Linked DNA regions of Homo sapiens: all the other regions are linked to region 2. Evidence: promoter capture Hi-C in human tissues and cell types (Jung and others, 2019). All regions are on one chromosome and are shown on one strand. The core of a region is centred on a gene start or on the middle of the fragment in contact, and the rest is flanking DNA. Distances in the headings are between cores, read along the strand shown.

What was found. Contacts are between HindIII fragments. The study calls those that stand out against the background at their distance.
Region 1: a contact is called between the fragment with the promoter of CALCOCO2 here and the fragment with the promoter of SKAP1 in region 2, in 1 of the 25 tissues and cell types used here (adrenal gland).
Region 3: a contact is called between a fragment that was not itself captured here and the fragment with the promoter of SKAP1 in region 2, in 1 of the 25 tissues and cell types used here (thymus).
Region 4: the fragment with the promoter of COPZ2 here is called in contact with the fragment with the promoter of SKAP1 in region 2 in 1 of the 25 tissues and cell types used here (small bowel).

Annotation. Positions count from the first base shown.
Region 1 is chr17:48,827,769-48,834,556 of GRCh38, forward strand. It overlaps CALCOCO2 (calcium binding and coiled-coil domain 2), which reads left to right and starts at 3,267. Exons shown (of 13, transcript NM_005831.5): 1 at 3,267-3,310. RefSeq lists an enhancer at 3,271-4,152 and a silencer at 3,523-3,682. The HindIII fragment of the contact is 23,399 bases long and covers 1-6,788 here.
Region 2 is chr17:48,426,364-48,433,626 of GRCh38, forward strand. SKAP1 (src kinase associated phosphoprotein 1) reads right to left here and starts at 3,851. Exons shown (of 13, transcript NM_003726.4): 1 at 3,712-3,851. The coding sequence starts at 3,757. RefSeq lists a silencer at 3,765-4,024. The HindIII fragment of the contact is 11,559 bases long and covers 2,100-7,263 here.
Region 3 is chr17:48,082,028-48,088,979 of GRCh38, forward strand. The region is part of intron 1 of CBX1 (chromobox 1); the gene reads right to left. It also overlaps the pseudogene RNU6-1201P. Among named protein-coding and RNA genes, the nearest start is that of CBX1, 16 kb to the right of the region's middle. The HindIII fragment of the contact is 8,049 bases long and covers 884-6,952 here.
Region 4 is chr17:48,035,896-48,042,404 of GRCh38, forward strand. It overlaps COPZ2 (coat protein complex I subunit zeta 2), which reads right to left and starts at 1,902. Exons shown (of 9, transcript NM_016429.4): 1 at 1,772-1,902; 2 at 956-1,030. The coding sequence starts at 1,882. It overlaps MIR152 (microRNA 152), which reads right to left and starts at 1,352; the gene lies at 1,266-1,352. RefSeq lists an enhancer at 3,019-3,068. The HindIII fragment of the contact is 11,602 bases long and covers 1-6,509 here.

The DNA of each region.
Region 1 (6,788 bases), core at 2,017-4,516, 400 kb after region 2:
TAGACACAACAGAGTATTTTGAGGCCAGCGGTTGTATAAACACCCAACGAGTTCTTGTCCACTGCTCAGAGAGAGCCAATTTATCAAGACAGGGGAATTGTAATAGGGAAAGAGTTTAATACCCATAGAGCCAGCTAAATGAGAGAGCAGAATTTTATTATTATTCAAATCAGTCTTTCTGAAAATTTGGAGGCTGGGTTTTTTAAAGATAGTTTGGCAGGCAGGGGGCTAGGGAATGGATGCTGCTAATTGGTTGGGGATGCAATCACAGGGGTATGGAAAATATTTCTTGTGTGCTAAGTCTGTTTCTGGGTGGGGAGTCACAGGACCAGTTAAGAGTCCTGGGTTCTGGTGGAGCCATCTGATTGTCAGAAATGCCAAAGTCTGAAAGGATCTATCAAGAGGCCAATCTTAGGTTCTACAATAGTGATGTTATTTATGGGAGTAATTGGGAAAGTTGTAAATCTTGTGACCTCCAGAATAATGGCTGGTAATCATTTAACTATGCCAACACGTTAGCAGAATTCAGGCCCCTCTCATAATTCTAAATCTGTGGCCTTTTATTAGTTTTATAAAGGCAAGTTTGGTTTTTTTTTATTTTTTTCTTTCTGAGACAAGGTCTCGCTCTGTTGCCAAGGCTCGAGTGCAGTGTGCAATCACTGCTCATTGCAAACTCAAACTCCTGGGCTCAAGTGATCCTCCTGCCTCATCCTCCTGAGTGGATGGGACTACAGGCTGGAGTGCAAAGGTGCAATCTCGGTTCACTGCAACCTCCGCAATCTTGGTTCACTGCAACCTCTGCCTCCTGGGTTCAAGCGATTCTCTTGCCTCACCCTCCCAAGTAGCTGGGATTATAGGCGCCTGCCACCATGCCCAGCTAACTTTTGCATTTTTAGTAGAGATTGGGTTTCACCATGTTGGCCAGGCTGGTCTCAAACTCCTGACCTCATGATCCGCCCGCCTCGGCCTCCCAAAGTGCTGGGATTACAGGCGTGAGCCGCCATGCCCGGCCAGCCTTCATTTTTAATTTACTGAAATAGTTATCATGTTAATGTAGACAATAAGCTGTGTGGGTGCAGATGGTTTTCATTCTCAGTGCTTTTAGAAAATCTAATAAGTAAAATTAAGGGAAATGTATCCAGGATACTGAGGGCACTTGTCCCTGCAGACCGAGTTTAAAATGGAAGATATTATTTTGGTAACTCAGAAGGTGATTTGAACTTTAGACGGATGACCCACTTCCTGGCTTACTCATCATTTCCCACCATCCGTTCATCTCAGTTGAATGCCACCAGTCTTGTGAGGAAGCAGATTAGGAATGCTCATTCCCGCTGGGTGTGGTGGCTCATGCCTGTAATCCCAGCACTTTGGAAGGCTGAGGCTGGTGGATCACAAGGTCAGGAATTCAAGACCAGCCTGGCCAATATGGTGAAACCCCGTCTTTACTGAAAATACAAAAATTAGCCGGGCGTGGTGGCGGGCGCCTGTAGTCCCAGCTACTCAGGAGGCTGAGGCAGGAGAATCATTTGAACCCGGGAGGTGGAGGTTGCAGTGAGCCCAGATCATGCCACTGCACTCCAGCCTAGGCGACAGGGCAAGACTCTGTCTCGACAAAAAAAAAAAAAAAAAAAGGAATGCTCATTCCCCTGCCTGAGATGGCACAGAAAAATTTCTTTCCACATTTAAACAGTGGAAGAAGGGGCACTTCCAAATTTAATCTTTCATAGACAGCATATACAGCATTTAACATCTTCTGGATGTTAAAGAAAAAAATATTCTGAAACTTGTTAAAATGGCAAGGAAGAATTTATTCAGGACCAAAGGGGAGATTATGCTGCACTCTGAATACAATAATGACAAGTGGGATTTATAGCCAACAAGCAGAGTGAGGGGTCACTGCATGGAAAATTACTAAAAGGAGATTCTTGTTAAACCAACTTAACAGGACTCTTGTTGAAGGCAGGCCAGGGTTATTAGATATTAAGGATGGGGGATTTTCTTTAAATTGACTTAGCAGAATTCTTTTCTTACTGAGTTTATTCTTTTTTTTTTTTTTTTTTTTTTTTTTTGAGACAGGGTCTCGCTCTGTCTCCCAGACTGGAGTGCAGTGGTGTGATCATGGCTTATGGCAGCCTCCACCTCCCAGGCTCAAGTGATCCTACCACCTCAGCCTCCTGAGTAGCTGGGACTACAGGGGCCCACCGCCACACCCGGCTAATTTTTTTATTTTTTGTGGAGACAGGGTCTCCCTATCTTGTCCAGGATGATCTGAAATTTCTGGGCTCAAGAGATCTCCCACCTCGGCCACCCAAAATGTTGGGATTACAGGCGTGAGCTACTGTGCCTGGCCATGAGTTTATTCTCTTTTTTCTTTTTGAGACGGAGTTCAAGGCCAGCCTGGCCAACATGGTGAAACCCCGTCTCTACTAAAAATACAAAAAAATGAGCCGGGCATGGTGGCGGGTGCCTGTAATCCCAGCTACTGGGGAGGCTGAGGCACGAGAATAGCTTGAACTCAGGAGGCAGAGGTTGCACTGAGCCGAGATCGCCCCGCTGCACACCAGCCTGGGCAACAGAGTGAGACCTTGTCTCAAAAAAAATAAAGACTCTTCGTGAAGTAGTGTTAAGTGGACCCAGGAGAAAAATGAAGATGACCTCTTAATGGCCCTTCAAATGTATAAAGCTTTCTCATTCAGGGAAGAAAGACATAAAGATGTAGCCCAGGCGCGATGACTCAGGTCTGTAATCCCAACACTTTGGGAGGCCGAGGCAGCTGGACCTCTTGAGCCCAGGAGTTCAAGACCAGCCTAGGCAACATGGCAAAACCCCATCTCTACTAAAAATACAAAAATTAGCCTGGCGTGGTGGCGGGCGCCGTATGGGCACCGTGGTTGTCCCAGCTACTCAGGAGGCTGAAGTGGGAGGATCACCTGAGCCCGGGAGGTCGGGGCTGCAGTAAGCCGTGTTCGCACCATGGCACTCTAGCCTGGACGACAGAAAAAGAAAAAAGAAATAAAGGTATAAAAGAAAAAAAAGAAAAGTAAACAGCTTCTTCCAGGGGATGAAGTAGGTTTATTTCGGTGAGATTGCTGCTCAGGACTTAGGAGAGCCATCAAAGGCAGAAGACCGCTCCTGGGGCCCGGTCACCTGAACACTACAAGTCCCAGCAAGCGCCGCGCGGGGGCGGGGCTTGCTGACCGTTGTGACGTGTGGGCGGGGCAGGCGGGACGGGCTCTCCCTTGGGTGCTTAGCCCCGCCCCCGTCCCACTCTGCCCTGTTGCTGTCGCGCCGCTGCTGGTTGCTGTCCCTGGTGAGTGCCTCAAGTGGAAAGGGGCAGTTAGGCCCTCGGGGTGCCCACATTCAGACTTGCAGTCCTGAGAAGGGGCCACGGGGGTAGAGGTGTGGCAAGTTTCGGTTCTCACCGCAGTTCACCCTCTGGGGTGATAGTGGGAGTGGTGTTCTGAAGGCCCTGGAGCCCCTCCCGCGGCCCGGGAGGGTTGCGGGGCAGTTTTGTCTTGCGGAGGGCAGCGCTGCAGTGCTGTGTGGCAGGGTGGGAGGCTCCTCGGGAAGAAGTGACACCCCTGGCGGCGGCGAGGGTCTTGAGGCGGCGGCTGCCGCCCCACGGGTCGTGGCGTCCCGTCCCCTCCCGCGGGCCCAGGCTGTGGTGGTTCCGTAATCCCTCGCCTGGATGTCATCGCCGTTGGCTTCGAGGCGGAGGTGGAGCCTTGTTGCGTCACCCTGAGCAAGTTACTTTCTTTTTGGGCCTCAGTGTCCCCCTTTACGAGTAGGTTTGATCCCTGAAGCGCCTTGCCTTTTGCATGCTGCAGCTGTCGGAGAAGACGTTCTAGGCAGGAGGAAAGACGGTGTCGTGACCTGCCTCTACAGTTAATCCATTGCCCCTCCACCACTGACCCAGCTTAGTTTGGGAGCTAATGTTCCCACTCGTATATTATTTCAACCCCACTGGACGTGTTAACTCTTTTCTATCACTTGGATTCTTGCTTCACATGCAAGCCAACAAGTGACCATGGTTGGAGCTGAGTAAAATATGGATAATATAACTTATTCTATTATTGGAAACACCATTGCAAGTAAAGGACTTTATGTGGTAGGTCTTTGTAGCTTGTGGAGAATACATGATTAAGGAATATCCAGATGGCTCAGTTTCCCAGGTATTTTCAAGGGACCTGGAAACTCTATCCTTTGGCAGACATGACAGCTGTGGAATGGAAAGGGCCTTGAAAAAGGTAGTCGATAATCCTGAGTTACCTGGCACTAACAGGTCATATTGTCTTTCGAGTCAGATAGTACATCTGTGGCTCTTTAAAAATTTAATTTGGCTGACTAGGCGCGGTGGCTCACGCCTGTAATCTCAGCACTTTGGGAGGCCCAGGCGGGCAGAATCACCTGAGGTCAGGAGTTCAAGACCAGCTTGGCAAACATAGCAAAACGCTGTCTTTACTAAAAATACAAAAATTAGTGGAGCGTGGTGGCGGGCGCCTGTAATCCCAGCTACTTGGGAGGCTGAGGCAGGAGAATCGCTTGGACCCAGACAGCGGAGGGTGCGGTGAGCCGAGATGGCGCCACTGCACTCCAGCCTGGGCAACAGAGTGAGACTCCGTCTCAAAAAACAAACAAACAAAAATTTAATTTGGCAGTATGTATTGATAGAATGTCATGTATCCTTAATTATTTTTAGATGAAAAGAGAGTTAAATGAACTCTTTCACTTCTTTTTTCCTTCACTTAGGATCATCATTATATCAGGCAAGGTCCTTGAAGATTTTCTAGCCTTAGCCATGCATTTTGCTGATGAGGAAACAGGCCAGAAAAGGGTACTGTGACTTGGCCAAGCTCTCAGAGTGGCAGAACTAAGATAGGAACCCAGCTCCCTTGGCTGTTAGCCTAGTCCCCTTTCCACCACACTTCAAACACTGTCACTGCCCATGTCACAGGGACATGGCATGTTAGAATCACCCCTGTCAAGGGAAAAGTGGATGGTCTCAGTAAAATGGAGATTAGTACACAGCTTTGAGCCTTTCAGAGTTTCCAGTTGCCCGCACCTGATGTCCCAGAACTATTTTTTCCATCTTCCCCTAGAACTGGCGCCAGCACTATGGTGGTGTGGATGTGAGATGAGGGCCTGTTTAGAAAAAGCTGGACAGCAAATTCAAACAATTGTTAATGAGTAGTAATAAAGGCCTCCTGGGGTGTAAAATTTTTGTAAGACACTCTGAAACATTTTCATATTTTAGGTAAGGGTCTAGAATTAACTTGGAAATTTTGGGCTAGAGCAAATGGCTCGATAATTTGAAGACCAGTGATTGTGTCTTTGCTTTTGCTACCTGTTTCAGGGCCATCTACACACACCCATAGTATCCACTGCTGGTATTCTTTAAGGCTGGTTATGTGTAAGCATTTCTGCCATAGCCAGGGAGAAACGGGATTCAAATCAATTCATCCATTTTTGCTAATTGCTAATCGTTTAGAAAGAAAAGTAAGCAGAAGGCCGGGCACAGTGGCTCACGCCTGTAATCCCAGCACTTTGGGAGGCCAAGGTGGGTGGATCACGAGGTCAGGAGTTAGAGACCAACTTGGCCAACATAGTGAAACCCCGTCTCTACTAAAAATACAAAAATTAACCGGACATGGTGGCACATGCATGTAGTCTTGGGAGGCTGAGGCAGGAGAATCACTTGAACCCAGGAGACAGAGGTTGTGGTGAGCTGAGATCACACCACTGCACTCCACCCTGGGCAACAGAGAGAGACTCTGTCTCAAAAAAAAAAAAAAAAGAAAGAAAAAAAGTAAGCAGAAAGATAAAGGAATCCAATTAAATTGGGTTTGACTTTTATCTTTGTTTTTACTGTTCTCAAATGAAGAATTGATTTGCATGTCTTTCTTGCCTGTAGAAGCATTTGATTTCCTTCTGTGAACTAATCTGTAGTCTTCATTTCTCTTGAAATATATGCCCACTGGTATAAAAAAGGCTAATGTAAACATGTTGGCCATTTAAAAAATTTTCTGCTAAAAAACCTATCAGTGTAGTTTGCAGATGCAGTTAGAAAGAGCAGAAGTAGGCTGGGCACGGTAGCTCATGCATGTAATCCCAGCACTTTGGGAGGCCGAGGCAGATGGATCGCCTGAGTCCAGGAGTTCAAGACCAGCCTGGGCAACATGGTGAAACCCTGTCTCTACAAAAATACAAAAATTAGCCAGGCACATGCCTAGGGTCCCAGCTACTCCAACTGAGGTGAGAGGATTGCTTGAGCCAGGGATGTCAAGGCTGCAGTGAGCCACATTCATGCCATTGCACTCCAGCCTGCAAGACCCTATGTCAAAAAAAAAAAAAAAAAAAAAAAAAGCAAGAGCAGAAGTAGAACAGGCTGCTGTTCCTTTTCTTCAGGAAGACATAAGAGGATCTATGTCCTCATGGAACAGCCCTGGGAGTAGTATATTAGGCTTGAAAAGCTCATTAGATGAAGATGTGTCAGGTTTTCTTGGAAGCTAGGAGACAGTTCAGGGGACTCATTTAAAAATACTTTCCCATTATTGCCTGCTCCTCTGAGGGCCCTAATCCTTTTGGAAACTGAGCTGAAAAAAGGTAATGACTATGTCAGAGGCCAAATAAAGTTGCCTCTGACAGTTTGTGGAATTTGTGCATTATTTTACCCATGCTTGATAGTTTTGTTTTTGAAAATCCCTATTTGTTTTCTCTGTTCATTCCTTATGTGGCCAATCTTTGATTTGAGGGTTGGAATAAGGAATTAGGTAAAATACCACTTTATA
Region 2 (7,263 bases), core at 2,601-5,100:
ACCTATCAGCTACCAGGGTAATGTCAGTAGGCCCCATTCCATCACACAGGACAAACTACGAACCAAAGAAATATCTATTCCACCTCCTTCATACTTGTCTCTTTTGCTTCTGACTTCAAAAGCAGGGCTAGAAAGACCAGGAAGAAGAGACTGATTATGTTTATATCTGTGGAGCAAAGATTATGCAAACTGCCAGCACTTCATTGTTTTTGTTTTCGGTGTGGTTATCACAGAACAAAAACAAAAAGATAACTTCTACATCTGAAGCCCCATTATTTGAAAACAGACCTGAATATTTCCTCCTCTTTCAATAAAGCAGAAAGCACCCTCCATTTTACTTATCTATGAGGTATTTATTTGTTGATAGGGGACTAGTTACTATTTCTATATGAGAGCTTGACAGAGTCTATCTAAAGAAGCTATTTCCTGAGTTACTCTAGAAACCTCACACTGTTTTGATATTTGCCAAAAATCCAAGATAGCGTGTTTTTTTTTTTTAATTTCTCCACCTTCCATACCCCTCAGGGCTAAAAAGAGAAAAACATGATCACAAGCATAGTAAATGGTCCGTTAGCACTCTGACCTCTCTGAGTTTCTATTTGTCTTTTGTTCCTTTTTCTTTTAAATACCCTTACTGTTTATTTTTTCCTGTTTACAGAAGTAATGCATGGTCATTGTCACAATTCAAACAACACAAAGATGTATGAAATAAAAATTAATAACCTCCCCTCCTCCAAACTCTCAGTCTTCTCTCAAGGAAGCCAATGTTAACAGTCTGGTATATATTCTTTTTTACTTATTCCTAGGCTTACACAAATATTTATAACATATGTGGCTTTTCTTGTTTTGTCTTTTGGTTTTCAAGCAAAAATGGGATATTACATGTACTATCATGCATTTTGCCTTTTAGTCTTAAAAATATGCCATGGACACTTTCCAAGCCTATATATAGATCCACAGAATACTCTTTTAGTGGCTGTGAAGTATTCCATGAGACAAATGTCCCATAATTCATTCAACCATCACCCTGAGTCTCCCAACTTATTAACATTTAGCATAGATCTTCGTGCATATACTACTTCATGACCTTTCACTTCAGTGACAGATTTTTAGAAGTGAGGTTTCTAGGTCGAGTGAAACATTTCCAAGTGTCTCAAATTTTATATTTAAACAAAATTAATTTTAGGCCTTGGGAATTTCTGTTCTCTTCATTATGCAAAATTTTGTTATCTACCTTTCACAATGCTTTACATATTTTATTCTTAAAAGCACACACATTATGTCAAAAAATGCCCCTGTCATTTATGCTTGTGTAGTTATAAATAAATAAATGCTTAAGTTATGGCTGTGATGTCCAGTGTTAAATCACTGTGCAAATGCTTATGCCTTGGTTTATGAAAGTAGTAATTCATTGTGGAAACCCCACCCCCACAGCCATGTGGCAGCACTAGAGTTGCAGCCCTCACATCCTGTGACTCCCTCCCACAGAGTGACTATATAGAGATCAGGACCTCCATTTTTTCTAATTGTCAACAGTTAACCTTAAAAAGTGTGTGGTGGGGGAGACAAATAGCAACAAACAACAAATTGATGGCCATTTTGGGTTTCTAATATGGACAGATTATTTGTAACACAATGAATAATCCTCCTGGTCTACACCAGCGACTGTGTTCCAAAAGAAATAAAACTTGTAACCAATATATTGCTATTATTATTACAGGAACCTTTAAAAAACATATCTTCAAACATTTTTCAATAGAATTACTGGATGAATCACACTTTACATTTTTTTCTCTACTTCAGATTCAAGTTCTAATTGCAAACTTAAAAAAAAAAGCCTTAAAGAAATACATTAACCAACGAAGCTCCTTATAATTTGGTTTCAGACTCCTCCATATATTTTAAAGACCTGAGCACCAACAGAGATTGTTAAGATACAGCAAGCTTGATACAGAAGTATGCGACATGCAATTAATCTCCATTCATACCCCGCTCTACTTGTCAGCAAACAAAGGTTCTGCTTTAGAAGGAGATCTGAAGACTTCAATTAAAAACAGTCAGCTAACAAGAAAATAATCTAAGCTAAAGGAAGGTGGCAGGTGCAGAAATGAGTTGTTTACCAAAGTGTCAGTTTTGAACAATGAAGAACTGCACATCAAAAATGCTGAAGGAATGGATTTCATTGCAAGCCTCTGAAAATAAAAAGGAATTTTCTACCAAGCCTAGACACAAAACTGAAGTATAGTTTAATAAGCTTATAAAATAGGTTTCCTCTCATCAAATGACAGATACCAATAAAAAGAATCAGTTTATATATTTCAATGCAAGGGCAGAGTTAAACTTTTTGCCACAGTCCCTTCTTTCCTAGAAACCAAAGACAATTACAGCCTTCCTTCACAAGCCTAATATTAAACCAACAACAGAGGGAAAGGCTGGATTGTTTCTTCTTAGACACCCAGATAATTCTCTTTTACCCTGCAAATAGTTTTCTACCCCCAAAATTTAGATTTATTCTGATCGTAAGTAAAACGGATTTTGGAAACCTCACCTCAAAAGAAATATCTAGCTGACAGCTTTTACATAGAAGCAATCCAGAATGGAAATAGTGCTACAGACAGAGACCAAAAGGACTTGCCAAATATTTGATTAGGAGGCATTTATACCGAGATAACAAGGTAATGGAGATATAAAACCAATTAAATTGAGAGAAACTGAAAAAAAATACTGCTTGCCAAAAATATGACCTGCCCAAAGCAGGCCGTCTGTTAAATATGTGTCAACTATGTCAACTTAGATGCCAAAAGGCTTAATTCTGAATAGTTTCCTCCTGGGAGCCTTATGCGACTGCAGATTCCAGGCCTCTGTCCTCCCTGGAAGGTTAGTTACAGGAAAGCAAGTAAAAGTGACTTCCACCACGAAACCCAGCAGATGAAACTGCCCGTTAGCAACGTCTCTTTGTGACATCTCTTTGGAGTGTTGGCAGTGTGTGTTGAGTGTTGACGGGGATGGCCGGAACTCTTTAAACCACCGCTTAGACACTGTAGTTGGAAGGTGAACACACCACAATGGGAGTTGGAAGGTGAACACACCACAATGGGGGCACTTCTAGAAAAGGAGGAAATCCCATACTGAGAATGAGCCTGCCTTGGGGTGGGTGAGACCCCTAGACGTCTGCAGGGTGATAAAGGGAGGGCTGGGGTTTTCGCACTGACAAAAACTCACGTCAACCACCTGGCCTTGGCCCATGGGGATCCCATGAGCCCCTCGCAGCCCCCTGGAGAGCCTCGGGGACCTCTAAGCAGGAAGGTTTGGGGTCTTCTGTGAGAGGTGAGGAAGTCGTGGCTGGGGAAGGAGGGGGACGGGAAACCCTACAGATGTAGGGCAGTCCTTTGGAGAAAGGGACAGGTCGGAGACCAGGCAAGGTGGCATGGGGGACCAAGAACCTGGCCTGAGGACTTTAGAAGCCGGGGAGGTGAAGTGGAGGCGTGGAGGTGCCTCAAGGCAAAAGAAGATGTGGGACTCCAGGGAGTGAAAGGGGCCCTGAGGTGAGAGGATGGAAAGCTGGCTCTAGGGAGTTGAGGGCTCTAGAAGCCTTAAGGTTCTAGAAGGAGGTGAGTGACGAAGCCGTAAAGAAAGCCTGGCCGTGGGAGGCCTGGTGTCCCCTTTCGGCCTTCGGCTCAGCACTGGAGGGGGCCTGCGCCAGGGCGTTACCTTCCAGGAGCCAACGGATCTCCTCAGGGAGGGCGGCGGCCTGCATTTGGCTGGGCGGGAGAGAGGCGGGACGGGGCGCGGGCCCTGGTCGGGAGGCGGACGGGCTGGAAGGCGACCCGGCTGCACCGCGAGGCACCTGTACCTCAGCCGCGGTCGCCGCCCGCCCAGCCCGGCCGCGGGGCGGGGCCGTGGGTCCCCGGGCGCGTCAGGAAGTGGCGCGGGCGGCAGGCGGGGACCGGAACGGGGCGCGGGGCGTGGGTGCACGTGGCGCTCACGCCGGAGCCCCACGGTAGAAGGATTGGGGGTGCCGGAAGCACCGCACCGTGCGAGGCCAAAGGTGCGCCCCTCCAGCACCCACCAAAACAAAAGACTTCACAAGGCTCAAAGGACCCACGGCTTTGGACACTCCATCCTAAGCACCGAACAGTTGACCTCACGGTGGCAGATTTGAAAGACCACGGGGTGCCTGAAGTAGGGTGCAGGGAGGCAGAATCCAAGGAAGAGATCCCCGTCAAGCATAGCACCCCTCAATTGCCGGTCCAGTTCACATCTCCATCCCCAGAAAAGAGGGCAAAACTTCGCTCTTTGGGAAGCCACAATGTTGAAAGGAAATGATTAATTCCCAATAAGCAATATAAGGACACCAACATTTGGGAGAATCGCGGCAGCGTGGCAGCAAGGGACACAGGAAACCAAACTGTGCTGTTCTCCCTCAGGATGGAAAGGCCCTGAGGAAAGGAAGGGGTAACACAGGGAGAAAGCTGAGGGAGAGGAGAACAGAGCCCTTTCCCTCCAGGAGCTGCGGAAGGGAGGAAAGTGAAGGACAAAATCACACGGTCTCATTCAAGGGACAGTTGGTGTCAGTGTCCTGGTTGTGACATGGTACTGTAATAGTGCCAGATGTTACCCTTGGGGGAAACTGGGTAAAGGTAGACAGAGTTCCTCTATTATTTCTGAAACTCTCTGTGAATCTATAATTCTCAAAATAAAGAGGTTTTTTAAGTACAATAGGTCAACTGCCATGAAAAAAGTATAAAGTGCTATGGTTGATAAAAGAAGGGAGCTGAATACCAGAAAAGGAGGGAAGAGGCCAGGCATTGTGGCTCACACCTGTAATCACAGCACTTTGGGAGGCTGAAGCAGGAGGATCACTTGAGCCCAGGAATCTGAGGTTACAGCCAACTATGATCACCCCAGTGTACCCCAGCCTGGGCAACAGAGCAAGACCCTGTCTCTTAAAAAAGAAAGAAAATAAAAAGAAGTGCCAGTGTGCATGTGAGTGTTTAAAGGTGCATGTGGTGTTTGAGATGGGCTCTGAAAAACACACCAGACTTTGAAGGGGCAGAGGACTTTCCAGGTGGAAGGACCAGAGTAAAGAAAGATGGAAGAGCCCTCACCAGCTTGAGGAATAGTTAGTAGCCCTCTTTTACTGGATGTTGTAGAAAGACTATGGTTGTCAAGATAAACTGCAGCTCTACTGTGAAGGGACTTGAAAGTCAGAATAGGAATGTTGAACTTAATTGAGAGGGCACTGGGGAGCCATTGACAATTTTTGAGATTGGGAATGACCTAACCAGAGCTCCGGGGTGGTATGTGGCCTCACACATCTCCACCTCTGCCTTTTTCCTTCTTTGTAAAAAATGGCATTTCTATTCTCAGACTCAACCTACAGAATATGTAGAAAAGATTAGGAGTGGTGGGAAAAGACACAGGGGGAAGTGGGTAAAATGGTTTTTACAACAGCCATAAGGGGAATAATGATGGACTCAATCTAGCAGACGGGGCAAGAGCAGTAAGAAGAAACCATCGAGAAGGATGAGTGTGATAAAAGTGCCTGCCTCCTTGTACTGTTTCCCATCCAGAGATACAGCCTCAAAGATGAGGGTGTGATCCTTTAAGGAGTACAGTGCATCCTGCCATCTGAAAAGCAGTGGTGCATTGGTTTCAGTGTCACATGACCCACCTACAAGCTGCAGTAAATTGGGGTGAGGGGACAGAGGCTGGCATGAGCCTCTCTGGGGTATCTGGCTCCTGCTCATCCTCCTTCCTGCCCTGAGAAAGTATAGTAATGGGTGGCTGGGCACAGTGGCTCACGCCTATAATCCCAGCACTTTGGGAGGCCAAGGCAGGCGGATCACGAGGTCAGGAGTTTGAGGTCAGCCTGACCAATATAGTGAAACCCCGTCTCTACTAATAATACAAAAATTAGCTGGGCATGGTGGTGCACGCCTGTAATCCCAGCTACTCGGGTGGCTGAGGCAGGAGAATCACATGAACCCGGGGGGCGGAGGTTGCAGTGAGCCGAGATCAGGCCATTGCACTCTAGCCTGGGTGACAGGGCAAGACTCCATCTCAAAAAAAAGAAAGAAAGAAAGAAAGAAAGTATAGCAATGGGCAGACTACCCCTTTCAGGCTTGGGATCAAGTACCAGGTACCCCCATGGCATTTTTACCAACTTCACCACTTCACCTATAAAATTGTAGCTGCTCTAGAATCATTTTGAAGTACTTATGAGGCATACTAAAAAGCAAGGAAAGATACATGGGAACTGTCTGTGCTATCATCTCAATTTTTTTTTGGTAAATCTAAACTGTTACACAAAAAATACAGCAAGGGCAGCAAAGTCTCCCCATATGTCAACCTAAACTTTGCCTTGCTTTCCTTCTTGGCAACAGAAGAAAATTTGATAACCTCCCCCTCTTCTTCAAGGATATGGTGTCACATACTAATATAAGCTACCAGCTAATGAATTGTTTGATAAAGAGCAGTAAACCCAGGTAATTGCACTTCTTTGCAGGCTTCACTGCCTGTCATAGCTTACTTACACCAAAAACTCACAGTGTACGTATTCTATATGCATCCTTCCTTACAAGAATCTCTGGGTTTTAGAGAGACAGGGGTAGAGGGAGGTGCACAGTCGGGTAGTATGTAGTGAGTGACTGGCAGATTCCAATACGGTATTGTCATGTTGCATCAAGGTTCCTCATTGCAGACAGAAATCTGCCTCCACACATGAACGCAGCCCTTCCTTAATCATCTGAGGACCCTGTTTCAGCAGTCAGCCCCACTCCTAATGACATTCTGTTAAATGGACAAATTCCTTTGAAGCCTTGTCCTTTTTTGAAATCCAATTTCGCAGGAAGCCAAATCTGATTGGGGGTAGCCATGGAAACCACATGGAGGAGTCTTAGAGGAGGTGAAGAGAGGCAAGGCAAAACGTGATAGTCACGAGTCCTTTACTGTTCTGTCAGAAATATCAAAGCAATCTGGAGAGGTTGGCAGTAGCTGAGTCCCTGCCTGGGTCCTGTTCTGTGTGGCTGGGTACTATGTGGCTGTCATGGAAGAAAGCAGCCAGCTGTCTCTGCACACAGGCAGGAGGACAGAACAGAATACACAAATCTCAGGTCTGTCTGCCTCCCTTTTCTTCCCGTCCCCCCCAGACCCAATTCCAGCAAGATCTTAGCATCCTCTTCTTAGCTGCCTGCCCCTTAAAGACAAACAACAAAAGAATGACAAGGTTAAAATACAAGGCCCTCACAGATAAGAGGTCCT
Region 3 (6,952 bases), core at 3,658-6,157, 340 kb before region 2:
ACTGCTTGAGCCCAGGAGTTTGAGACCAGCCTGGGCAACGTAGTGAGACCCCATCTCTACAAAAAATAATCAGCTGGGTGTGCTGGGAGGATCGCTTAAGCACAGGAGGTTGAGGCTGCTGTGAGCTGTGATTGTGCCACTGCACTCCAGCCTGGGTGAGGAAGCAAGACTGTCTTTAAAAAAATGATAAAGAGGCTGGGCGTGGTGGCTCACACCTGTAATCCCAGCACTTTGGGAGGCTGAGGTGGGCAGATCACGAGGTCAGGAGATCGAGCCCATCCTGGCTAACACGGTGAAACCCCATCTCTACTAAAAATACAAAAAATTAGCTGGGTGTGATGGCGGGCACCTGTAATCCCAGCCACTCGGGAGGCTGAGGCAGGAGAATGGCGTGAACTCGGGTAGCGGAGCTTGCAGTGAGCCGAGATCATGCCACTGCACTCCAGCCTGGGGGACAGAGCGAGACTCCATCTCAAAAAAAAAAAAAAAAAAAAAAAAGGAAAAATGATCTATAATTTTATTTATTTTTTTGAGATGGAGTCTCTGTCGCCCAGGCTGGAGTGCAGTGACGCAATATCAGTTCACTGCAACCTCCACCTCCCAGGTTCAAATGATCCTCTTCCTTAGCCTCCCGAGTAGCTGGGACTACAGATGCACACCACCACTCCTGGCTAATTTTTTTGTATTTTTAGTAAAGACGTGGTTTCACCATGTTGGCCAGGCTGGTCTCAAACGCTTGACCTCAAGTAATCCGCCCACCTCAGCCTCCCAAAGTGCTGGGATTACAGGCGTAAGCCACTGTGCCAGGTAATTTTATTTTTTTTTAATGACACAATTATCTTTTTTTTTTTTTTTTGAGACGGAATTTCGCTCTTGTCACCCAGGCTGGAGTGCAACAACGCGATCTCAGCTCACCACCACCTCGGCTTCCCAGGTTCAAGCGATTCTCCTGCCTCAGCCTCCCAAGTAGCTGGGATTATTGGCATGCACCACCATGCCCAGCTAATTTTGTATCTTTAGTAGAGACAGAGTTTCTCCATGTTGGTCAGGCTGGTCTTGAACTCCCAACCTCAGGTGATCTGCCTGCCTCAGCCTCCCAAAGTGCTGGGATTACAGGAATGAGCCACTGCACCTGGCCTAATTTTTATTTATTTATTTATTTTTTAAAGACAGGGTTTCACTATGTCACCCAGGCTGTTCTTGAACTCCTGGACTCCAGTGATCCTCCCGCCTCAGCCTCCCAAAGTGCTGGGATTACATGTGTAAGCCATCATGCCTGGTCAATTACCACTTTGTAAATTCCACCTGCACCCCTATTGTCAGGGGTACCTAGTGGCCTTTCCAGAATCCTGTGACACAAACTGGTTTGTTGTACCTTCTTGGCTCTTCCTAAATCCAGTCCTACTTAATTTTTAGCTTTTTCTGGTCAGTAACTAGTTTTCCAGCTGTTTTCTGACATCTCTACTTGTCTTTTTCCTATTTTTCTTGTCTCTTTAAAAATCTTCTTATTGGCCAGGTGGCGTGGTGGCTCACGCCTGTAATCCCAGTAATTTGGGAGGCCGAGGTGAGCGGATCACTTGAGGTCAGGAGTTCGAGACCAGCCTGACCAACATGGTGATACCCTGTCTCTGCTAAAAATCCAAAAAATTAGCTGGGTGTGGTGGTGGGCGCCTGTAATCCCAGCTACTTGGAAGGCTGAGGCAGGAGAATCGCTGGAACCTGGGAGGCAGAGGTTACAGTGAGCCGAGATTGCGCCATTGCACTCCAGCCTGGGCGACAAAAGCGAAACTCCATCCCCCCTCCAAAAAAAAAATCCTTTGACCATTACTTGTGTGAGATTTTCAAAAGGAGTAGAACCATGTAGTTCAACCAGCCATGTTTATCTGCAAAGTTTCACTGAAGTATCTAATAATAGTGAGTGCTTATTATGTGCCAGGTACTATTACAAACACTTTACTCATTTATTTAAAAAATTTTGTTTAGACACAGGGTGTCGCTCTGTTGCCCAGTACGGTGGCCTGATCATAACTCACTGCAGCCTCGACCTCCTGGGCTCAAGCCATCCTCCCAAGTAGCTGGGACTACAGGCTTGTACCACCAAACCTGGCTAATTTTTTCAATTTTTTCTGGTGGAGACAAGGTGTTCCTATGTTGTTCAGGCTTCTCTTTCTTTCCTTTTTTTTTTTTTTTTTTTTTTTTTTTGAGACGGAGTCTTGCTCTGTTACCCAGGCTGGAGTGCAGTGGTGCTAATCATCATGCTCACTGAACCTCCGCCTCCAGAGTTCAAGCGATTCTCCTGCCTCAGCCTCCTGAGTAGCTGGGATTACAGGTGCGTGCCACCACACCCAGCTAATTTTTGTATTTTTAGTAGAGACAGGTCGCCATGTTGCTCAGCCTGGTCTCCAACTCCTGACCTCGTGATCCACCCGCCTCAGCCTCCCAAAGTGCTGGGATAACAGGCGTGAGCCACTGTGCCGGGCGCCAAGCTTCTGTTAAACTCCTGGCCTCACACAATTCTCTCGCTTTGGCCTCCCCAAGTGTTGGGATTACAGGCATGAACCATGGCGCCCTGCCTACTCATTTATTATTTACAATACTCCCGGCCGGGCATGGTGGCTCACGCCTGTAATCCCAGCACTTTGGGAGGCTGAGGTGGGTGGATCATGAGGTCAGGAGATCGAGACCATCCTGGCTAACATGGTGAAACCCCGTCTCTACTAAATGTACAAAAAATTAGCTGGGCGTGATGGCGGGCACCTGTAGTCCCAGCTACTTGGGAGGCTGAGGCAGGAGAATGGTGTGAACCCAGGAGACGGAGCTTGCAGTGAGCCGAGATCGCGCCACTGCACTCCAGCCTGGGCGACAGAGCGAGACTCCGTCTCACAAAAAAAAACAAAAAAAAACCAATACTCTCAAGAGTTACTAGTTGAAGCTAGTAACTGAGTTGACTGGACTACAAATAGGGGAGTATGGTTTTACAGTATGTACTCAAACCTCAGTTTGAGATCCTCAGTTGTCCTACTTAGCCAACTCGTATGGTTTATATCACAATATTGTAAACAAAGAAATCTAGCATTGCCATAATTTTTACCTAAACATTTGCTGAGTCTGCTACATTTGAAGATTCCTAGAAAAATAATACTTTACATTTGCATTATACTTTACAGTTTACAAAGTGCTACCACATTATCTCATTTAATCTTCAAAACCATCCTGTGAGATAAGCCATTCAGATGTTATCTCTGCCTCACAAATAGACCAAATTTAGATGAAATAGATCACCTAAGGTCACACAATTAAACGAAGCACTGCACTTCAGTAAGGCCATCTAGCAAGGCTAGGCTAAATGCCCTGTTGAACACATAAAACTAGCAGCTAGCCAAAAACCTACAGGGTAACATCCCTCCAGCCTGTATAAGGAAAGGACACAGAGGTCTCTTAAGATGACTCCTCCCTACAATTTGTCACTGGTAAATAAGAAAGTGACTGGTAATGATTTTTCTCAGAAAAGACCTTGAAAGGTATGGCTCTGTTAAAAAAAAAAAAACAATGATTTTTAATTGGTTTCTGGAATATGAAGGTATTCATTGTTTATTAAACCTGCAGACAGAAACAAAGCTGGGTTTTTAATGCCCCAGCAGTCTTTTGAGTCTTTTAAATTGACAAGTGCTACATAGTGTAGAATTTTTTAAGTTAAACATCTAGCAAGCAGACTAGAGAGAGAACTACTGAGAAAATGTCAATTTTAAGAAACCAGGCCAGGCGCGGTGGCTCACGCCTATAATCCCAGCACTCTGGGAGGCTGAGGAGGGCAGAATCACCTAAGGTCAGGAGTTCAAGAAAAACCTGGCCAACGTGGCGAAACCTCGTCTCTACTAAAAATACAAAAAAAATAGGCTGGTCACGGTGGCATGCACCTGTAGTCCCAGTTACTCGAGAGATTAAGGCATGAGAATTGCTTGAACTCAGGCGGCAGACATTGGCAGTGAGCCAAAATCACGCCACTGCACTCCAGCCTGGGTGACACAGCGAGACTCTGTCTCAATAAAAAACAAAACAAAACAAAAAAAACCCAAAACTTGTTTACAGTGTCCCAAGGAATCCAGGAACAGTGTAAATCTGAATCAAGAGTAATTAATTCATAGCTCAATTTTAAGAGAAAGAGTACTGTTGTGATTTTCCTCACCCACCCTCCACCCCTGCACTGAGGAGCTAGAAAATGTAAAGAAGCAACAATGCTACTTGACTGCAGAAGGCAGTAACATAACAGACACAAGCTTAGGCATTTCATTTTGGTTTGAAATAGTTTGTACTGTGAAAGGGTACGAGAAGGCTTCAAGAAGCCAGTATGGCCACAGCTCTTGGCTGCCACCATAAACATGAACTATGAAGTGCTATGCTAGGAACTTCCACGATTCTGATTTCTTGCCAGTTTGAAAAACCAAATTATAAATGTGAGGCCATGGTAACACCTACAGACCTAAGAAACTAAACCAGTAGGGTTTCTAGCTAAATGCCAAGGTGAGGCATTTAAAATGTTGGTCAGGGCTGGGCATGATGGCTCACACCTGTAATCCCAGCACTTTGGGAGGCTGAGGCAGGCAAATTACCTGAGATCAGGAGTTTGAGACCAGCCTGGCCAACATGGTGAAACCCTGTCTCTACTAAAAAATACAAAAATTAGCTGGGCGTGGTCGTGCACATCTGTAATCACAGCTACTTGGGAGCCTGAGGCAGGAGAATCACTTGACTTCAACCCAGAAGGCGGAGGCTGCCTTGAGCCTAGATCACACCACTGCACTCCAGCCTGGGCTATAGAGTGAGACTTCGTCTCAAAAAAAAGAAAACGAAAAAGAAAAAAACAATAAATAAACAAAAATGGCCGGGCGCGGTGGCTCACGCCTGTAATTCCAGCACTTTGGGAGGCAGAGGTGGGCAGATCACAAGGTCAGGAGATCAAGACCATCCTGGCTAACATGGTGAAACCCCATCTCTACTAAAAATACAAAAAATTAGCTGGGCGTGGTGGCGGGTGCCTGTAGTCCCAGCTACTCAGGAGGCTGAGGCAGGAGAATCAGTTGAACCTGGGAAGCAGAGGTTGCAGTGAGCCCAGATCGCACCATTGCACTCTAGCCTGGGCAACAGAGTAAGACGCCATCTCAAAAAAAAAAAAAGAAAAGAATTCAGAGGAAAGCGAACTCTGAGTCAAGAACCTTCACCTCTATGAGAATCAGAATCACCTATGGAGTTTAGAAATACAGATGCCTGCCTGGGTGTGATAGCTCACGCCTGTAATCCCACCACTTTGGGAGGCGAGGTGGGTGGATCACGAGGTCAGGAGTTGAGATCGGCCTGGCCAACATGGTGAAACCCCAGTCTCTACTAAAAATACAAAAATTAGCTGGGCGTGGTGGTGTGCACCTGTAATCCCAGCTACTCAGGAGGCTGAGGCAGGAGAATAGCTTGAACCCGGGAGGCGGAGGTTGCAGTAAGCCAAGATCATGCCATTGCACTCCAGCCTGGGCAACAGAGTGAGACTCCATCTCAAAAAAAATTTAAAAAAAGGCTGGGCGCAGTGGCTCATGCCTGTAACCCCAACACTTTGGGAGGTCAAGGCAGGCAGATCACTAGGTCATGAGATCGAGACCTTCCTGGCCAACATGGCAAAACCCTGTCTCTAGTAAAAACACAAAAATTGGCCGGGCATAGTGGCACACGCATGTAGTCCTAGCTACTTGGGAGGCTGAGGCAGGAGAATCACTTGAACCGGGGAATCAGAGGTTGCAGTGAGCTGAGATTGTACCACTGCACTCCAGAGCCTGGCAACAGAGCGAGACTCAGTCTCAAAAAAAAAAAAAAAAAAGAAAACAGAAAAAAGAAGAAATACAGATGCCTAGACCCCACTCCACAGCGAATACATGAGGAAGTGGTGTTTTTAAAGCAGTTAATTTTTTCTAATTAAAATCATATATTAACATTCAATTACAAAAATATATAACGTGGCCAGGCGCAGTGGCTCACGCCTGTAATCCCAGAACTTTGGAAGGCCAAGGCGGGCGGATCACAAGGTCAGGAGTTTGAGACCAGCCTGGCCAACATAGTGAAACCCCCATCTCTACTAAAAATACAAAAAATTACCTGGGCGTGGTGGCAGGCGCCTGTAATCCTAGCTACTTGGGAGGCAGAGGCAGAAGAATTGCTACAACCTGGGAGGTGGAGGTTACAGTGTGCCAAGATCGCGCCACTGCACTCCAGCCTGGGAGACAGTGTGAGCCTCCGTCTGAAAAAAAAAAAAAATTTATTTTTCTTGTTGCCAGGTGCGGTGGCTCACGCCTATAATCCCAGCACTTTGGGAGGTCGAGGTGGGTGGATCACGAGGTCAGGAGTTCGAGACCAGCCTGACCAACATGGTGAAACCCCATCTCTACTAAAAATACAAAAATTAGCCGGGCGTGGTGGCGCATGCCTGTAATCCCAGCTATTCAGGAGGCTGAGGCAGGAAAATCGCTTGAACCCGGGAGGCGGATGTTGCAGTGAGCCAAGATCACGCCACTGCACTCCAGCCTGGGCGACAAAGCGAGACTCCATCTCAAAATAAATAAATAAATAAATAAAAATTTCTTACTTTTGATTTTTTTAAAAAAATACTTAAAAATATGGACTGCTTCATGAATTTGTGTGTCGTCTTTGCATAGGGGCCATGCTAATCTTCTCTGTATCGTTCCAATTTTAGTACATGTGCTGCTTAAGCAAGCACCAGTTTACCATTTTATACAATGCAATGTATCTTTGACATTATTCCATAAAGATCTCCATCCCTAACAGCTGCCATAGTATTCCATTGTATGGTTTCCTTTATTATAATGAAGAATGCTGTTTTGACATTGGCAGCGAGCCAAAATCACACCACTGCACTCCAGCCTGGGCGACACAGCAAGACTGTCTCAATAAA
Region 4 (6,509 bases), core at 652-3,151, 390 kb before region 2:
GGCGCCCACCACCATGCCTGGCTAATTCTTTGTATTTTTAGTAGAGACAGGGTTTCACCATGTTGTCCAGGCTGGTTTCGAACTCCTGACCTCAAGTGATCTGCCCGCCTTGGCCTCCCAAAGTGCTGGGATTACAGGCATGAGCCATCACACCTGGCCTTATAATGCATTTCATAGCTAATGCAGATGCTATAGCTCCCCTACAATTAATTGTGTTGACAGCAGAAATTTATTTTTGGATTATTTTAGTTTGGTTCGCTCAGGCCATGTTTGCTAGGATAGATAACAGCTAATTGAATGGGGGTACAGTGAAAACCACCTTGAGCTTCATGTCAAAAAACCCGAGTTTGCCTGTGAAACCTGTGAAATGGGAGAAGTGAAAAAATTAAATAAGTAAATAAATAAAATTTGAGTTTGGATCTGTTAGGATATTAATACTTGTGACCTCAGGCAACTCACTTAGCTTCTCTACCCCTCATTTTCTTCATCTACGAAATTAAAGAGTTGGATTATACAGTTTCTAAAATCCCATCTGGTTCTAAATCCTTAGACTCCTTAGACTAAATCGTTAGTGTTTACCAAGCTGTAGAACAAAAGTGGAGGTTTAGAGACAAACCCCAAAGAACAAAAGAACTTGTGTGGGGGTTTGGGGACTAAGACTCCTGGGTCCCAGGCTCAACACTCCACTGACCCATTAGGCAGAACCTTCCCATGCCCAGGTCCAACTGGCCAGTAGCAGGATGATAAGGAAACATTTCAGGGAACATGAGTAGAAATAGAGGAGACCCCTCATTTCAGGGAGCAGCACCTTGACAAGGCAGGAGGATGAGAAGGACCTCTGGAGGGGTCTAAGCTGAGCTGCCCTGAGTCACAGAGATCACAGTGGAGTTTCTCCTGAGACAGGAGTGTCAGCTGAGTGGGAACTGTGTCCCTCATGGGTGGGGTCAGAGGTTACCTTGGCCAGCAGCCGGCGCCCGTCATTATCTAGGATGAAAACAGCCTTGATGGTGTAGAGGGAAGGTTCCTGCAACTGACACCGGAGAGGAGAGTTCCGTTTGGCCCCTGACTCGAGGTGGACACCCTGTGTCTATGGGATCTGCTGGCCCTAGGATACATCCTCAGGCCCCAGCAACCCCAGTCCTCAAGGTCCACAGCTGGTTCTGCCCAGCCCTGTGCCACATGGGCCAACCCAGGTGCCCACTCCACTCCCAGGCAGATGTTCCACTGCAGGCCCCGAGTGGGCGCTGTGCCCGTTGGGTGCAGAAGGTCCTTCCGGGCCCAAGTTCTGTCATGCACTGACTGCTCCAGAGCCCGAGTCGGAGTGTATCACAGAACCTGGGCCGGGGGGGACAGCGGGCCGAGCCTCCTTCTTCCAGCTGATCCCTGGCCGGGCTGGACCTGCGCTATCAGCGCGCCCCCAGGCCCTGGCCCGGGTAGACTCCAGAAGCATGCCCATCACCCACCGGTGATGGGAGCCGAGTCTGGGACGGACAGGCCACTCCTTACCCTCCCCGCGGAATCGCAACTCACCCGCCACCCCCACTCCAAACGGACCCAGAACTTCAGCCCCGCGCCGACGGACTCAGGACAGGCCTCCTCTCCGGTCGGCGCTGGGACGAACTTTTCCTCCCGGGTCCTGGGGCCAGTCAGGGGTGACACAAAGTTCCCAGCCGCCGGGCGCGCGAGTTCTGAGTTGGCTGCTCCCCCTAACCCTGCTCTGTCCCTGCCCAGCTCCCGCCGCCCGGGATCCCCGCGCCCGCCCGCTCCGTACCCGCAGCCCCGAGGGCTCCCCGGCTCGAGCAGGCGGCGCCGGGCCCCCGGCCTGGGCCGCCGCGGCCCCCTCCCCCGGGTGCGGACGTGGCCAGGCCTCGGGCCGCTGCATTCCGCTCGCCGCCTCGCACTGACAGCGCCGCCCGCCGCCTGCCCGCCGCCGCCGCCCCGCCTCCGCGCCGCCCCGCGGCCCCCTCTCGCGCGTGGCCTCCCTTTCCTCGGGGCCCCGTCCTCTTGCTCGTTCTCCCCCATCTCCCCTCCCGCCCTCACCCCACCTCTCCTTCCCCCACTTCTCCTCTCCCTCTCTCCTCCTTGGCTCCTTCCCGAGTCCCTTACATCCCCGAACTCTGCATCCTCAGGGTGCCCCAAGACCAGCCCTCGTCCTGCTTCCTGCCTGCTCTCCGGCCTGTGGCTTTGGTGTGCGCCAGTGTCTATAGGCTGTCCTGGGGCCAGCAGCAAACACAAGCAAAGCCCACTTTTGTCTGTTGACCTCTGGTAGGTACCATGAGGACAAATACGTCAGGTCACCCTTTAGATCTCAGGGACAGGGTCTATAAGCAAGAGCAAATGAGGACAGTTCTGGGGACACCCCTCTGTGAAGAGGCTTTCTCATTCCTCTCTCACTACTTGCAGAAGGCAACCATGGGCCCGGAGACACCTCCCCAGGCTCTCCTAAGTCACAGATATGGCACCATCAGAAGCAAGACAGACGCCCAGCAGCACAAATGCTCCACCAATGACATCGGGCTTTGCAGCATGTTTTGGTTTCTTTGGTCTAAGTCTAACTAAGACAAGCTCTCATTTCAGGGTACACTGGCAAGTGGGAAATTCACATCCCAGTGATATGTTAGTGCTACGTATGCATTTACCGGTAAAAACACTGTGCGTGTATTTTACATTTGACACCTTCACATCCATTATCTAATATAGCCCACACCTGTAAGATAGGCATAATGGACCCTCATTTTAAGCAAAGAGAGACTCAGAGGTTGTGTGACCTTTTCAAGACTATACAGCTAGTTGACTGGGGATAGAACCCAGATTTTTGACTCAAAATTTCTTCCCTATTCTTCTCTTCAAGCCCTCTTATGTTGTGGACCACAGTCACTTACCCTAGATGGTTACAGAATGGGGTTTTCCTCACTGAATGCATCAAGTCTTCTTATCTTCAAGCCTCTGCTGAAATATAATTACCAAAAGGTCCTCCTGACAGCCACCATATCTGACTTGATAGGTCTCTCCTGTCACATTCTCTCAGTTCCTATTTCTTTCTTTCATTGCACTTTTTTCAATCTCTAAATATTATTTTTACTAATATTGCTTGTTTGAGACACGGTCTCACTCTGTTGCCCAGGCTGGAGTGCAGTGACTCGATCTGGGCTCACTGCAGCCTCAACCTCCTGGGCTCAGGCAATCCTCCCATCTCAGTCTCCCGAGTAGCTGGGACCACTGGTGCATGCAACCACTCCCAGGTAATTTTTTATTTTTTTATTTTTTTTATTTTTGTAGAAACAAGGTCTCAAGTCTGGGCTCAATGGCTCACATCTGTAATCCCAGCACTTTGGGAGGCTGAGGTGGGCAGAAGGCTTGAGCCCAGGAGTTCCAGACCAGCCTGGGCAACATGGTAAGATCTAGTCTCTACTAAAACTACAAAGAAATTAGCCAGGTAGGGTGGTGTGACCTGTAGTCCCAGCTACTCAGAAGGCTGAGGTGGGAGAATCACCCGAGTCTGGGGGTTCAAGGCTGCAGAGCCATGATCATGCCACTGTGCTCCAGCCTGGGCAATGGGAGTGAGAATCTGTTTCAAAAAAAAAAAAAAGAAGAAGAAGAAGAAGAGAAAAAGAAAGGAAGAGGAGGAGGAGGGGGAGGAGGGTGATCATGATCAAGGTCTCACTATGTTGCCCAGGCTGGTCTTGAACGCCTAGGCTCAAGTGATCCTCCCACCTCAGCCTCCCAAAGTGTTGGGATACAGGCGTGAACCACCATTCCCAGCCTTTACTAGTTTGTTTATAAGTGTTCCTTCTCCCCGCCCAGACTTTGAGCCCTGCAAGAACCAATGAATGTGACTTTTTGTTTGTTTGTTTTTTTGTTTTGAGACAGGGTCTTGCTCTATCACCCAGGCTGGAGTACAGTGGTGTGATCATAGTTCACCGCAGCCTCAAATTCCCAGTGTCGGCCGGGCACGGTGGCTCACGCCTGTAATTCCAGCTCTTTGGAAGGCCGAGACAGGCGGATCACGAGGTCAGGAGTTTGAGACCAGCCTGGCCAACATGGTGAAACCCCATCTCTACTAAAAATACAAAAAAATTAGCCGGGGGTGGTGGCAGGTGCCTGTAATCCCAGCTACTCGGGAGGCTGAGGCAGGAGAATCACTTGAACCTGGGAGGTGGAGGTTGCAGTGACCCGAGACCGCACTACAGCACTCCAGCCTGGCCAAGAGAGCGAGAACCTGCTACCCACCCACCCACCCACACACACACACACACACAAACAACTCCCAGGATCAAGCCATTCTCCTGTCTCAGTCTCCTGAGTAGGTGGGACGATACACACGTGCCACCATGCCTGGTTATTTATTATTATTTTTTTTAAAGGCAGGGTCTTGCTGTGTTGTCCAGGCAGGTCTTGAACTCCTGGGATCAAGCCCTCCTCCTGCCTCGGCCTCCCAAAGCCCTGAGATTACAGGTGTGACCCACCTCACCTGGCCAATTATGTTTGTCTTGTTCACTGTGGAATCCCTAGTGTTTCTTACAAGGCTTGGTGACAGATTTTTTTTTTTTTTTTTTGAGACGGAGTCTTGCTCCGTCACCAGGCTGGAGTGCAGTGGCGAGATCTCGGCTCACTGCAACCTCCGCCTCACGGGTTCCAGTGATTCTCCTGCCTCAGCCTCCCGAGTAGTTGGGACTACAGGTGCACACCACCACGCCCAGCTAATTTTTGTATTTTTAGTAGAGACAGGGTTTCACCATGTTGGCCAGGATGGTCTCGATCTCTTGACCTTGTGATCTGCTTGCCTCGGCCTCCCAAAGTGCTGGGATTACAGGCATGAGCCACTGCACCTGGCCGATGACAGATATTTAATAAGCATTTGTGAAGTAAATGAATAAAGGAATTCAGGATGAGGGAGATCATGTATAAATATTCACAAATACCAAATTTTAACTAATAATAATTAAAATGTACCTATCAATGATACCATATTGGCTGGGTGTGGTGGCTCATACCTGTAATCCCAGCACTTTGAGAGGCCAAGGCGGGCAGATCACTTGAGACCAGGAGTTCGAGACCAGCCTGGCCAACATGGTGAAACCCTGATTCTACTAAAAACACACAAAAATCAGCCAGGCATGGTGGCGAGTGCCTGTAGTCCCAGCTACTTGGGAGGTGAAGGCAGGAGAATCATTTGCACCCAGGAGGCAGAGGCTGTAGTGAGCCAAGATCACACCACTGCAGCCTCAGCAACAGAGCAAGACTCTATCTCCAAAAAAAAAAAAAAAAAAAAGACAACATATTTTATGTGCTGTACAAATATTTATTGAGTGCTTAGTATGTACCAGATATTTTTCTAGCCACTGGGACACAATAGTAGACAAAAGAAAAATTTTGCTCTCATGGAACTTACAATCAAGTGTTTGTGTATGTACATGCGTGCGTTTCTGTGCAAGATATAATACACAAATAAATGGGAAAAGTAGATATTATATGAGTTGGGGATAAGTGCTGCAAAGAAAAATAGAGCAGAAATGGGATGTGGAATGTGAGGGGTAAGGGACAGGCAAGCCAGAAAGCCATTTTCATAGTCCTCTGAGAAAACCTTTAACAAGGTGACATTTGAACAAAGAGCTAAAGGAAAGGAGGAAGCAGGCCATGCAGACATCTGAGGAAGCATCTACTGACCCTCCCTATATGATGACTTAGAAGGCACATCTGAACCTTTCTTGCAGGCTATCAGTTATAATAGGGAACATAATGACACTATTTGATAACAGCAGCCAGGGAAAAGACCCAGCATTTGGGCATTTTATTTCTTCGGATTCCAGATCATCAGAAGTTATGTCAATGGTCATGCTGGCTGGGTATGTTATTTCTAAAAAATACTGATTTGGTTATTTTGATGTCTTAATATTTCTGTGAGCTAGTCCATTTTTTTTTTTTTTTTGGCTCATATTTACAAGGACAGCACCAAAAAGCCTCCAGGAGCATTTCTCAGCCTCTGTTTGGCTATGGTACCCACTATGAAAGACCAGCAGCCTCCAGAAGGGACAGAGGAAGACCTGGGAAGATAGGGGACTTAGGGGGCTGGCTCCATAGGGGAGGTGGGGAAGGAGTCAGTTATACACGTTAGGGATGGGAAGGCACTGGAGAGGGGCCAAGGGGATAGGAATGAGAGAAGGCTGGGGAAGGAAGCTTAGGAACCACAAAGTTCTCATCACCCCCACATCTATCACTGTTGTTGCTTTTTCTTTTTCTTTTTTTCTTTTTTTTGAGAAGGAGTTTCACTCTTGTTGCCCAGGCTGGAGTGCAATGGGGTGATATTGGCTCACTGCAATCTCCGCCTCCCAGGTTCAGGCGATTCTCCTGTCTCAGTCTCCTGAGTAGCTGGGATTACAGGTATGCGCCACCACACCCAGCTAATTTTTTTTATTTTTAGTAGAGACAGGGTTTCACTATGTTGTTTGGCTGGTCTTGAACTCCTGACCTCAGGTGATCCGCCTGCCTTGGCCTCCCAAAGTGCTGGG